4 separate regions of the Homo sapiens genome follow, and all the other regions are linked to region 1. Evidence: promoter capture Hi-C in human tissues and cell types (Jung and others, 2019). All regions are on one chromosome and are shown on one strand. Each heading gives the region's core, a stretch centred on a gene start or on the middle of the fragment in contact. The rest is flanking DNA. Distances are from core to core; before and after follow the strand shown. Region 1 holds the start of NQO1 (NAD(P)H quinone dehydrogenase 1). Region 2 has its middle 18 kb from the start of MIR1538. Region 3 overlaps WWP2 (WW domain containing E3 ubiquitin protein ligase 2). Region 4 overlaps WWP2 (WW domain containing E3 ubiquitin protein ligase 2).

Region 1 (3,278 bases), core at 476-2,975:
AAAACCTGGATGCTTTAGTTAACCTCAAGATTTGGTTAGCTGGGTACAGCTAAAACTAATTATACAAGATCCAAGTCTTCCCTTTTCACCTCATTACCACCGCCCTTTTTTGTGTTTAAGCTACACGTAAATACAGAACATTCTGTAAGATTGAAAAGTCAGGAAATAGTTCCTGCCCTAGTATTGGAGGAGAGGGTGCCAGTGCCTCGACGCTGAAGAATGAAATACAAGGGAAACAGCAACCACCGTGTATGCGGCAAGCCTCTCAGCTGTCAGAATCTATTCCCTGCTGTCTCTGCCAGTAACTCATGCTGGGCTACCAATCCCCAGCTTAGTCCCTTTCTCAGAGATCCTGATAATTTCAGTTTGTCAACTGCAAGGGCAGTCTGTTCCTCCACTCACTTTGACCAAGATGGGCTTCTTTGTGTACAGGCGCATTTTTAGAGGCAGGACCAGGTCCACAGGGAAGGAAATTACAAAACACAGGATTCTGCCCCAGATGAGGCAACAGCTTTCTAAATCTTAGTACTGTCCAATCTCAGAGTGAGATTATTTGGGAAACAGCTCTCAATCCCTGCAGTTGTCTCAGCTGGTTATTTATGCCTTGGGTGGAGCTGGGGTGACCTCTGAGTTCCCCTAGGGTCGATGGCCGAGTGGGAAGGCTCTATCACTGAAGTGGACCCAATACTAGAAACGGATCCAGTACGATCTGATCAGGTTTGCCTAATCCAAGGGCCTCAATGGAAAATGCCTCCCAAGGCCAGGCACGGTGGCTCACGTCAGTAATCTCAGCACTTGGGGAGGCTGAGGTGGGTGGATCACCTGAGGTCAGGAGTTCAAGACCGCGCTGGCCAACTTGGCGAAACCCGTCTGTACTAAAAATATAAAAATTAGCCGCGCATGATGGCGCACTCCTGTAATCCCAGCTACTCGGGAGGCTGAGATGGGAGAATCGCTTGAACCCGGGAGGCGGAAGTTTCGCTGAGCTGAGATAGCGCCATTGCACTACAGCCTGGGCGACAAGAGCAAAACTCCGTCTCAAACAAAACAAAACAAAACAAAACAAAACAAAACCTGTGCCTGGCAGCCTGGAGCCGGTTCTGGTCTCCGTCAAACCAAAGGCATCAGTTTCCTCCACTCCTGTCCACCAATCGCCAGATATTCTCATTTTCTTCAGAAGCTCGGAATCCACATTTTTAAGTGAAATCACCCATTTTAATGTTAGCAACTTATTTCAAAGTGTTTTAGATACTATAGACCAAAAGAGGTATGGGCTGTGACCGTAAGCCTGATTTGGCCTCTGACGGCCAGTTTCTGACCACAGTTTTGGAGGGAATTTCTGCTTCCAAGGTCAAGTTTCTCCTAAATGCCCACTAGAGTTCGTGGGGTGGAGTGAGGAAGGATCCGCGACACCGGATACAAACAGAAGCTCTCCTTCTCCCGGAGTCCGATCAAGGCTCATCCCAGGTCCCTAATCTCTTCCCTTTGTGGGTTTTGAGTCAAGGAACAAAATTCAGGGCCAAGCCCCTACAACCTCCTCCACAGGCACCAGTGCTCGAGAGACGACCGCCAAGCACCCCGCCCTTTGCAGCACTCACCGACCATGGCTCTGGTGCAGTCCGGGGCGCTGATTGGCTGGGCTCGTGGTTGCCGGGGCGACCCTGGCCGGAACTAGGCTCTCGGTGAGCTGGGCGGCTCCGGCTGCAACCTTGTGGGAGTCGCGTGTGTAGTGCACGGTGCATTCTCTCTTATATATCCTGTCCGGCCCGTTTGAGGTGGACAGCCTACAAGGGCGGGACCCAACGCCTGAATCCTGGGGTGCTGGGCGGAGGATGCTGAGGCTGCAGCTCCAGGAAGGGAGGGAGCCTGGGGGATGAAGGAGGGGCCTCTCCACTCTCACCCGCCGGAGCAACTGGTGGAAGTCAAGAAAAGTCTCTCGGGGCTGGGGGAGGGGATTGTAGGGGTGTGTGTGACAGAGGCCTCAAAAATCTGGCTGGGGGTGCTAAGGCAAGCCCATCTGCGCACTGTGCCCTGAGGTGCAAGAGGATGCAGGGTGGAAGTCGTCCCAAGAGAGTCCAGGGATCAAGTGGGCATGCCCTTTTAGCCTTGGCACGAAATGGAGCAGAAAAAGAGCCGGATGCGGATTACTGTGGTGCCCTAGGCTCAGATTCTGCTGAGTCACTGTGACTGCGGATTTGGAAGGCTGAGAGTCCTGGGGAGACATGCTCCGTGGAGACGAATTTGTTTCTTCCTTTGCAAGATTCAGATTCTGCACTTGGGGGCCCATACAACACACTTCCCTGGGTGCATGCCACTGCACCACCCCTGCTCCTCAAGGCAGGTAATGGGGGAACTAATTGGTTTTGTTTCCCATGAGCTAAGGCAAGGCTGGTGTGGAGATAGCAGTTATAGGGAAGCATATTAAAGAATAGCCAAAACGGGACCAGGCGCGGTGGCTCACGCCTGTAATCCCAGCAATATGGGAGGCCGAGGTGGGTGGATCACCTGAGGTCAGGAGTTCGAGACCAGCCTGGCCAACCTGGTGAAGCCCCGTCTGTACTGAAAAATTAGCTGGGCGTGATGGCGGGCGCCTGTAAGTCCCAGCTACTCGGGAGGCTGAGGCAGGAGAATCGCTTGAACCCGGAAGGCGGAGGTTGCAGTGGGTCGAGATCGTGCCACTGCACTCCCGCCTGGGTGACGAAGTGAGACTCCGTCTCAAAAAAAACTCTATAAAGTAAAAGTTACTGTAAAGAAGGAGATATACTCTCAGTAGGTGAAGGAAAAAGAACTAGAGCTTTAAAGTGGTAATTAACCATCAGAAGAATCACAGATGGGGGAGGTGAGGATGACACAGGGCCCTTCCGTTGTCCCTCCAGTGCAAAAGTTAAGGAGGCACCAGAAAACTGGTTTCCAACTCCCGACCTCAGGTGATCCTACCGCCTCGGCCTCCCGAAGTGCTGGGATTACAGGCATGAGCCACCGCGCCCGGCCCCATCGTGACATTTTTGCATTCATTTTGATGCAACAAGAGAGGACTATATTATTTACACGTATTTACAAATTACTTTGGGAGGCTGAGGCAGGAGGATCACTTGAGCCCAAGAGTTTGAGAAAAGCCTGAGCAACAAAGTGAGACCCCATCTGACAAAATAGTATAAAAGGACGTTTTAAAAAAGGGCTAGGTAGGCAGCCCTGTCCAATAGAACTTTCCCTATCTGTGCTGCCCAAGTAAGGTAGCCACAAGCTTCAAGTAGCTATTGAGCACTGGAAATGTGGCC
Region 2 (3,278 bases), core at 288-2,787, 180 kb before region 1:
GTGAGGTTACAAATGACAGAAAAGTCGCCTATGCTGGAGTGCAGTGGCGCAATCTTGGTTCACTGCAAACTCTGCCTCCCAGGTTCAAGCGATTCTCCTGGCTCAGCCTCCTGAATAGCTGGAATTACAGGCATGCGCCACCATGCCCAGCTAATTTTTGTATTTTTAGTAGTGACGGGCTTTCCTTGTATTGGTTATGCTGGTCTCCAACTCCTAACCTCAGGTGATCTGCCCGCCTCAGCCTCCCAAAGTGCTGGGATTACAGGCATGAGCCACTGTGCCTGGCCAGCAAAAAAGGATTTAGACTATTATGTAAACTTCAGTGATAAAGCAGCAGCAAAATTAGAGAGGATTGACTCCAATTTTCAAAGAAGTTGCACTGTGGGTAAAATGCTATCAAACAGCATCACGAGCTGGGTACAGTGGTGTCCACCTATCATCCCAGCTATTCAGGAGGCTGAGGAGAAAGAAGTGCTTGGGCCCAGGAGTTCGAGGCCAGCCTGGGCAAGATAGAGAGACCCCCCGCCCCCCCACATCTCTAAAACAAACAAACAAACAAAAAAACCCAGCGTCAAATGCTCCAGAGAAATCTTTGTTGAAAGAAAGGATTGATGTGGCAAACTTCACTGTGGTCTTATTTTAAGAATTGCCTCAGCCACCCCAGCCTTCAGCAACCACCACCCTAATTAGTCAGCAGCCATCAACATCTCAGCAAGACCCTTCCCCAGCACAAACATTTCAACCCACTGAAAGCTTGGATGATTGTTAGCATTTTTTAGCAATAAAGTTTTTTTTTTTTTCTGAAACGGAGTCTAGCTCTGTTGCTCAGGGTGGAGTGCAGTGGTGCAATCTTGGCTCACTGCAACCTCCGCCTCCTGAGTTCAAGTGATTCTCCTGCCTCAGCCTCCTGAGTAGCTGGGATTACAGGCGCCCACCACCCACACCCGGCTGATTTTTTTGTATTTTTAGTAGAGTCGGAGTTGCGCCATGTTGGCCAGGCTGGTCTTGAACTCCTGACCTCAAGTGATCCACCCACCTTGGCCTCCCAAAGTGCTGGGAGTACAGGCATGTGCCACTGTGCCCAGCCAGCAATAAAGTATTTTTAAATTAAAGTACGGGCCAGGCGCGGTGGCTCACGCCTGTAATCCCAGCACTTTGGGAGGCTGAGGCAGGCGGATCATCTGAGGTCAGGAATTTGAGACTAGCCTGGCCAACATGGCGAAACCCTGTCTCTACTAAAAATACAAAATTAGCCAGGCACGGTGGTGTGCACATGTAATTCCAGCTACTCAGGAGGCTGAGGCAGCAGAATCACTTGAACCGAGGAGGCGGAGGTTGCAGTGAGCTGAGATCGTGCCATTGCACTCCAGCCTGGGCAAAAAGAGCAAAACTCCGTTTCAAAAAATAATGATAATTAATTAATGAATTAAAGTATGTACAGTTTTTTAGACATGATGCTGTTGCACATTTAATAGGCTATAGTGCAGTGTAAACATAACTTCTATATGCACCAGAAAACCAGAAAATTCATATGACTCACTTTATTGCTTTGGTCTGGAAATGAACCTGAAATATCTTCAAGGTATACTTATATTTGTGTATAATCTTTTGTTGGGTAAATGAGCTGTAAATAACTTCAGTTTATATGTTATCCTTTGATATTTTCTATAATATATTTTGTATACAGATATTTTGAATTTAATGTAGTCCAATATTTTTCTTTATGCTTTGTACTTTTGAGTCTTTACAAAATCTTTCCCTGTTCTGATGCCATAAAGACATTCTGCATTTTCTTCCAAAAATTTTTACATGTTGCTTTTTACCTTTCAAATTTTTAATCCATTTAAAACTTATTTTCATCTACGTAAGGAACTAATTAGTTTTGTGGGGGGGTTTGTATAAATAATTGTTCTAGCACCATTGCGTTTTTCATTTTTTTCCCACTGATTGATTTATAAAGCCATTTCTATTTTACGACAAGTTTCTATATGTATTTAGGCTGTTTCTGGCTTATCTGCTCCTTTAATCTGTTTGTCTATTCCTAAACAAATGTTGCATTTTTTTTTTTTAATAATACGGCTTTATGACAAATGTTTCTTATCTGGCAGGTCGAGTTCCCTCCTCTATGTACTTTTTCCCCCCAAATTATCATGGCTATTTTTGGCCTATTTGTTCTTTCATATGAAATTTAGGATCAGTTTATCAAGAGCCATAAAAAGTCCTTTGGGAGTTTTGGTTGGTGTTATAATGTATTGATAGACAACTTTGTAATATTGAGTCCTTCTATTCAGGAACATAGTATCAGCTCTATTTTTTTAAGTTTTCCTTTGTGTCCTTCAATAAACATTTTGTAAATTTCTCCTTAAAAGTATTTCCCGGTCGGGCACGGTGGCTCACTCCTGTAATCCCAGCACTTTGGGAGGCTGAGGTGGGCGGATCACAAGGTCAAGAGATTGAGACCATCTGGGCCAACATGGTGAAACCCTGTCTCTACTAAAAATACAAAAATTAGCTGGGCGTGGTGGCACGCGCCTGTAGTCCCAGCTACACGGGAGGCTGAGGCAGGAGAATCGCTTGAACCTGGGAGGCGGAGGTTGGAGTGAGCCGAGATGGCGCCACTGCACTCCAGCCTGTTTAGAGCGACATCTCAACAACAACAACAACAAAAAGGATTTCCCATCTTTTGTTATATTTTCATGGGCGTCTCATAGTTTTGTTGCTCTTGAAATTGTATTTTTTATAATTAACGACATTTTTGAATGTCTTTGCCAGCAAGTTGCTGTATTATTTTAATATTTTTCTTGGACTTCCTATGTAGATAAACATTTCAACTGTAAATAACAAAGATTTTTCTTCCTTACTTTGCAACCCTTTCTATTGCATTGACTAGAACCTCCAGGACAATATATAATAGTAGCACTGAGAGGAAAACATCTTTGTCTTCTGTATTTTTTTCTGTTTCTGAGTCAGGGTCTTGCCCTGTCACCCAGGCTGGAGCGCAGTGGCATGATCATAGCTCACTGCATCCTCGAACTCCTGGGCTCAAGTGATCCTTCTGCATCACTCTTCCAAGTAACTAGGACTACAGGTGCATGCCACTATGCCTAGCTAAATTTTGAAATTTTTTTTGTAGAGATGGGATCTTGCTATGTTGCTCAGGCTGGTCTCAAGGGGTCCTCCCACATAGGTGCCCTAAGGTGCTGGGATTACAGGCATAAACCATTGTGCCTGGCCCCTATAACATTTATTTATCTGATGTTTGTTTCTAACCAAGATAG
Region 3 (3,278 bases), core at 546-3,045, 150 kb after region 1:
CATGAAAAAGAAATTTGAGGCCAAACCGGAGCTGGGTTCCAGGTGGTTTTTTTATGTTGTCACAACCATAAAGTATCCATTTTTATAAAACAAGAGTGAATGGCAGCCCGTCTGTATAAATATTATATTTCTAAGTTTTAGAAGTGGTGGAATCAAGAAATAGACGAATGGCATAGCCCTTCATTGAGACTTGTATGGGATGATTTACTTGCTAATTCTTTATTGAAGACTTTACCCCCAAATTTTACATATTTTACTTCTTCCCTAAATGTAATTTCCATACACATCAGTCAGAAGTTGCATCAGCCGTGGTCAGATTCCGATTCTTCATCTTTAATGCGTTTAAGGCCCAGTGACTCGCTAGGTCTTAGTTTTCTCATTTATAAAATTAGGGCAAAAGTTGGGCGTGGTGACATGCATCTGTAGTCCCTGCTACTCAGGAGGCTGAGCCAGGAGGATCGTTTGAGCCTAGGAGGCAGATGTTGCAGTGAGCTGAGATGGCACCACTACACTCCAGCCTGGGCAACAGAGTGAGACCTTGTGTCAAAAAAAAAAAAATTACAGCAAAAGTATATATCTCATAAGTTGTCATAAGGCATAAATTACAGACACACCTTCAAGATATTATGGGTTTGTTTCCAGACTATCACAATAAAGTGAATATCACAAAAAAGCAAGTCACATGAATTTTTTGGTTTCCCAGTGCATATAAAAGTTATGTTTACACTATACTATGGTCCATAAAAGGTACAACAGCATTATGTCTAAAAAATGTATACACTTTAATTAAAAAATACTTTATTGCTAAAAATGCTAACAATTATCTGAGCCTTTAGCCAGTGGAAATCTCTTCACTGGTGGAAGGTCTCTCCTCGATGTTGATGGCTGCTGACTGATCAGGATGGTAGTTGTTGAAGGTCAGGGTGGCTGTGGCAATTTCTAATAAGACAACATGAAGTTCACAGCATCAGTTGACTCTCCCTTTCATCAAAGATTTCTCTGTAGCATGCGACGCTGTTTGACAGCATTTTAGCAACAGTAGAAAATCTTTCAAATTTGCAGTCAATTCTCTCAAACTTTGCTGCAGCTTTATCAACTAAGTATATGGAATATTCTAAATCCTTGTTGTCATTTCAACAGTGTTCACAGCATTTTCACTAGAAGTTGATTCCATCTCAAGAAACTGCTTTCTTTGCTCATCCATAAGACACAACTCCTAATCTATTCCAGTCTTCTTATGAGATTGAAGCAGTTTAGTCACATATTCAGGCCTACTTCTTATTCTAGCTCTCTTGCTATTTCCACCACACCTGCATTTCCTTCCTCCACTGAAATCTTGAACCCCTCAGAGCCATCTATCAGGGTTTGAGCTTCTTCCAAACTCCTGTTGTGTTGATATGTTGACCTCCTCCCATGAATCACAAATGTTCTTAATGGCATCTAGAATGGTGAGTCCTTTTTAGTTTTTATTTATTTTTTATTTTTTTATTTTTTTGAGATGGAGTTTTGCTCTTGTTGCCCAGGCTGGCATGCAGTGGCATGATCTCAGCTCACTGCTGCAACCTCCGCCTCCTGGGTTAAAGCAGTTCTCATACCTCAGTCCCAGGAGTAGCTGGGATTATAGGCATGCACCACCACACCCAGCTAATTTTTGTATTTTCAGTAGAGATGGGGTTTCATCATGTGGGCCAGTCTGGTCTTGAACTCCTGACCTCAGGTGATCTGCCTGCCTTGGCCTCCCAAAGTGCTGGGATTGTAGGCTTAAGCCTTTAGGAGGTTTTTAATGGGTTTTGGCCACATCCATCAGAGGAATCATGATCTAAGGCAGTTATAGCCTTATAAAATGTATTTGGTTTTTTTGGGGCATGTTTTTTGGGGTTTTTTTTTTTTTTCGTTTTTTGTTTTTGAGATGCAGTCTCACTCTGTTGCCTAGGCTGGAATGCCGTGGCATGATCTTGGCTCACTATAACCTACACCTCCCGGGTTCAAGTGATTCTTGTGCCTCAGCCTCCAAAGTAGCTGGGATTACAGGCATCTGCTACCACATCCGGCTAATTTTTGTATTTTAGTAGAGACAGGGTGTCATCATGTTGGGCAGGCTGGTCTCAAACTCCTGACCTCAAGTGATTCACTTACCTTGGCCTCCCAAAGTGCTGAGATTATAGGCGTGAGCCACTGTGCCCAGCCATAAAATGTATTTCTTAAATAGTAAGACTTGAAAGGCAAGATGACTCCTTGATCCATGGGCTACAGCATGGATGTTGTGTTAGCGGGCATGAAAACAACATTAATCTCCTTGTAAATCTCCATCAGAGCTCTTGGGTAACCAGGTGCATTATCCATGAGCAGTAATATGTTGAAAGGAATCTTTTTTCCTGAACAGTAGGTCTCAACAGTGGGCTTAAAATATTCAGTAAACCATGCTGCAGACAGATGTGCTGTGATCCAGGCTTTGTTGCTCCATTTATAAAACACAAGCAGAGTAGATTTAGCATAATTGATAAGGGCCCTAGGATTTTCAGAATGTTAAGTGAACATTGGCTTCAACTTAAAATCACCAGCAACATTAGCTGCTAAGAAGAGAGACAACCTGTCCTTTGAAGCTTTGAAGGCATGAACTTCTCTTTATCTATGAATGTCCAAGATAGCATCTTCTTGCAATAGAAGGCTCTTTCGTCAACATTGAAAAGCTGTTGTTTCGTGTGGCCAACCCCGTCAATGATCTTAGCTAGATCTTCTGGATAGCTTGCTGCAGCTTCTTCCTCAGCATTTTCTTCACTTGGACTTTTACGCTGTGTTTGAGGGATCTTTCCTTAAACCTCATGAACCAATCTTTGCTATCTTCCAACTTTTCTTCTGCAACTTCCTCACCACTCTCAGCCTTCATAGAATTGAAGAGGGTTCGGGTCTTGCTCCAGATTAGGCTTTGGCTTAAGAGAATGTCGAGGCTGGTTTGATCTTCTTTTCAGACTACTCCCTATCGCTTTCTCCCTATCACTTTTCTTGGTAAGGCTGTTTTACTTTCTTATCACTCAAGTGTTCATCAGAGTAGCACTTTTAATTTCCTTCAAGAACTTCTCCTTTGCATTCGCAACTTGGCTAACTGTCACAAGAGTCCCAGCTTTGGCCTGTCTTGGCTTTCAACCCACCTTCCTTATCACTAAACTTAATAATATCTAGTATTTGATTTAAAGTGAGAGACATATGACTCTTCCTTTTGCTTGAACACTTAGAGGCCAATGTAGGGTATAAGGAGAGAGAGAGAGAGAGAACAGCCA
Region 4 (3,278 bases), core at 411-2,910, 130 kb after region 1:
CTTGGGGGAAGTGGTGCTGAAGCTTTCACTCAAACACCAGGCCACGGCTCTGTGTGCCTCATTCATCTTTGTGTCCCCAGCAGGACCTAGAATAGTGCCTCACTGCACGTAGTAGCAGCTCAATAAATATTTGCTGAGCTGAAAGAGTCTCGTGTTCCTGCTCTTCATTCGCCAAAACTTCTGGGTGGGTCATGTTGCTGGTTTACGTTCCCTGGCGCCTTGACTCCTGAGATGCGATAATTTGAGGACCACAGAGAAGAGGGGGCGCCCTTTATCACAGCCGCCTTGTGCTTGCAAGGTGAACCACCAAGAGTGTGCTGGGGTCCCACTGCCTGCACAGTCTCTGTGGCTTCATCTGTTTTTTTCTTCATGATTGATATTTCTGTGTTGAATGCTTTTCACCGACTGTTCTTTTCAAATCCTTGCAGCTTTTAAGGTTAGTATTGGAATCAGAGAAGAATTGACACATAAATAAGTCTTGTTTGGGAAAAGAAGGTGTAAAGTCCGTGTACTTCAACTCTGCCAGAAAAGAATGTTACTTACCCTCTAAGAATAGGTAATATCTCATTTATACTAGGTGTTCAAATTCCCAAGTGATTATTGAATCTTAGGATTGAGTGTCTCCTTGAGGACATTAGGATCACTGGAATGCTGCTCCTTCGACATGGGCACTGGATCCCACAGAGTGATGCCATAACTGTATGAGGGCTGCTGAACTAGACCAGCAAGAACTGGGTCAAGGCTGTTCCCTAGTCATGCATGTATTTGAGAGTTCCATCTTCTACTGTGGAAATTGAATTGTCATTTATTTGCATTCATTTTCTATTGCTCTGTAACAAATCACCACAAACTCAGGGCTTAAAACAACACCATTTATTAGCTCACAGTTCTGTAGGTCATAAGTCCAGGATCACACGGCTGACTTTTCCCTTCAGGGTCTCACAAGGCCAAAATCAAGGCTCTGGCAGGACAACATTCTTATCTGCATACACTGGGGAAGAATTCATATCAAAGGTCATTCAGGGCTGGGCACAGTGGCTCACGCCTGTAATTCCAGCACTTTGGCAGGCTGAGGTGGGCAGATGGCTTGAGTACAGGAGTTTGAGACCAGCCTAAGCAACATAGCCAAACCCCATCTCAACAAAAAAAATACAGAAATTAGCTAGGCATGGTGGCGCATGCCTGTCATCCCGGTTACTCAGGAGGCTGAGGCGGGAGGATCGCTTGAGCCCAGGGAGGTCGAGGATGCAGTGAGCTGTGATTGCACCACTGCACTCCAGCCTGGGCGACAGAGGGAGACCCTGTCTCAAAAAAAAAGAAAAAGAAAAAAAAAGTCATTCAGGTCCTTAGCTGAATTTAGTTATTTGCAGTTGTAGGACTGAGGTGCCCATTCCTTGCTGACCATCAGCGGGGGTCCCTCTCAACTCCTTAAGCTTCCCCCTGGCCCCGACCCCTGCATTCCTTCTCACGGTGCCCCCTCCACCTTCGAGCCAGGAAAGGAGTGTCAGATCTCCCTGTGATTTGAATCTCTCTGATTTTCTCTCCTGCCACCTGCTGGAGAAGGCGCTCTGCTTCCAGGAGGTGATGTGATGCTAATTAGACTGAGAGAGCACCGCCCCCCACCCCCGCCCCGCCCGATGATCCCCTTTCTTAAGGTCTGCTGTGGTACACGACGACATACTTGACGACATACTCAAGGGTGTGGCACCTTGTCATATTCACAGGTTTTAGGCATTGGAGGGGGGCTAGAGTGAGAGGGATGTCATTTTAGAAATTCTCCCCACAGTAGAAAGACTCTCTCTAATGGGCCAGCCATGGTGGCTCAGACCTGTAATCCCAGCACTTTGGGAGGCCGAGGTGGGAGGATCACTTCACCTTAGGAGTTCAAGACCCCCATCGCTATAAAAAAAAATCAAAAAAATTAGCCAGGCGTGGTGGTCCGATTCCATTCTTTAAAGGAGTCGGGGAGGTGATGAGTGACTGGATTGGAAAGAATATGCAAAGTACTGGAGGTTACAGGCCCAAGAGTGATTTTGAACCTGACAGCTTGCATCTTTCCTTCATTCAACAGATATTTCCTGAATCCTACTGTGGGCCAGGCACACACTAGGTGCTGAGTCTCCAGAGGTTCACAAAACAAGACATGATCTCTGCCCTCATGAATGTGTAGTGACACATAGCAGTGCCATAAAGGGAACAATTAGGATGTTATGAGAGAATGAAAGGAAATTTACTGTAGCCTGGGAGATGAGGGACATTTGGACTGAGATTTGGCCTAGGAATTTGGCCACCTGGGTGGAAAGTCCAGGAAGAGAATGCCGGGCAAGTAGATCAGCAAAGGGTCTGACTCTCCCTTGGTAGGGGTCTAGAGAGGTATTTTGAGGGATGTCCATTGAACATATTCTTTTTGGAGCCTGCCTCCGTCCTGCTGAATTCCTGCCTTGTGATTTGTCGTGTCAGAACACTTAGAAATAATGCTCTACCCAGCTCATGCCTCTAATCCCAACACTTTGGGAGGCCGAGGCTGGAGGATTGCTTGAGGCCAGGAGTTTGAGACCAGCCAGGACAACATAGCAAGACTCGATCTCTAGTTAAAAAAAAAAAAAGGAAAGAAAGAACACTCTAATATACTGTAGTCCCCCATTCATTCAAGGTCCTGTGTAGTCCTTTCTGGTCTGGAGCTATAGTAAAAGGAGGCAGTGAGTGGGCCAGATTCAAACAGGGAATGATGCCAGTAGCGAGAAAGTGAAGAGGCTTTTCTGGCGCACCTGTACAGGTTGTGCTCTGCATTCCTTGGGGGCCAGCCCCATGGAGATTCCTCCTGTGCACAGTGGAGGTTGATGGGGATGCTCATCTCCTAAGCGGCAACAGTGTCCTATGCACTCATAATTCAGGGTCAGGGGATCTCAGGTCATAGGACAAATCACAGGCTGCTGTCTCTGTTCAGGGTACCTCAAGCCATCAATGGCCACGTTGAGCAGGTGAACACTTCCCCTCTGAACTCTCTAGCTCTCTTTGAAGTTTGGGAGGGCATTTGAGCACTCTTCTCAGCTAAGCCCAACATACGGCCTGGAAGTAGATTGGACAAGTCACCATTTACTATACCTTCTCTCTCAAGGTGAGTTTTTTTAGTCTAATGAAATTGCCACCTTTGAGAAGGTTGCTCTGTACTCTAGGGTGCGCAAAAGGAAATTGTTTGTCTTCCGGAAGTCTTTCTGTAATTTAGAATGGACTTGGCAGCGATTTTATTTTTACCTTCCCTGTCATTTGTGAGGCTG

Evidence for each region. The method cuts DNA at HindIII sites, captures the fragments that hold promoters and counts their contacts. A contact is called where the count stands out against the background at its distance.
Region 2: a contact is called between a fragment that was not itself captured here and the fragment with the promoter of NQO1 in region 1, in 1 of the 25 tissues and cell types used here (pancreas).
Region 3: a fragment that was not itself captured here is called in contact with the fragment with the promoter of NQO1 in region 1 in 1 of the 25 tissues and cell types used here (aorta).
Region 4: a contact is called between a fragment that was not itself captured here and the fragment with the promoter of NQO1 in region 1, in 1 of the 25 tissues and cell types used here (pancreas).

Annotation. Positions count from the first base shown.
Region 1 is chr16:69,724,835-69,728,112 of GRCh38, forward strand. NQO1 (NAD(P)H quinone dehydrogenase 1) reads right to left here and starts at 1,726. Exons shown (of 6, transcript NM_000903.3): 1 at 1,599-1,726. The coding sequence starts at 1,605. It overlaps NQO1-DT (NQO1 divergent transcript), which reads left to right and starts at 1,893. Exons shown (of 2, transcript NR_186363.1): 1 at 1,893-2,341. RefSeq lists enhancers at 1,209-2,201, 1,288-2,487, 1,734-1,993, 2,202-3,195. The HindIII fragment of the contact is 19,943 bases long and covers 1-3,278 here.
Region 2 is chr16:69,546,058-69,549,335 of GRCh38, forward strand. No RefSeq gene overlaps it. Among named protein-coding and RNA genes, the nearest start is that of MIR1538, 18 kb to the right of the region's middle. The HindIII fragment of the contact is 7,884 bases long and covers 1-3,278 here.
Region 3 is chr16:69,874,477-69,877,754 of GRCh38, forward strand. All of the region lies in intron 7 of WWP2 (WW domain containing E3 ubiquitin protein ligase 2), which reads left to right. Among named protein-coding and RNA genes, the nearest start is that of MIR140, 57 kb to the right of the region's middle. The HindIII fragment of the contact is 7,914 bases long and covers 1-3,278 here.
Region 4 is chr16:69,858,248-69,861,525 of GRCh38, forward strand. All of the region lies in intron 6 of WWP2 (WW domain containing E3 ubiquitin protein ligase 2), which reads left to right. Among named protein-coding and RNA genes, the nearest start is that of MIR140, 73 kb to the right of the region's middle. The HindIII fragment of the contact is 7,416 bases long and covers 1-3,278 here.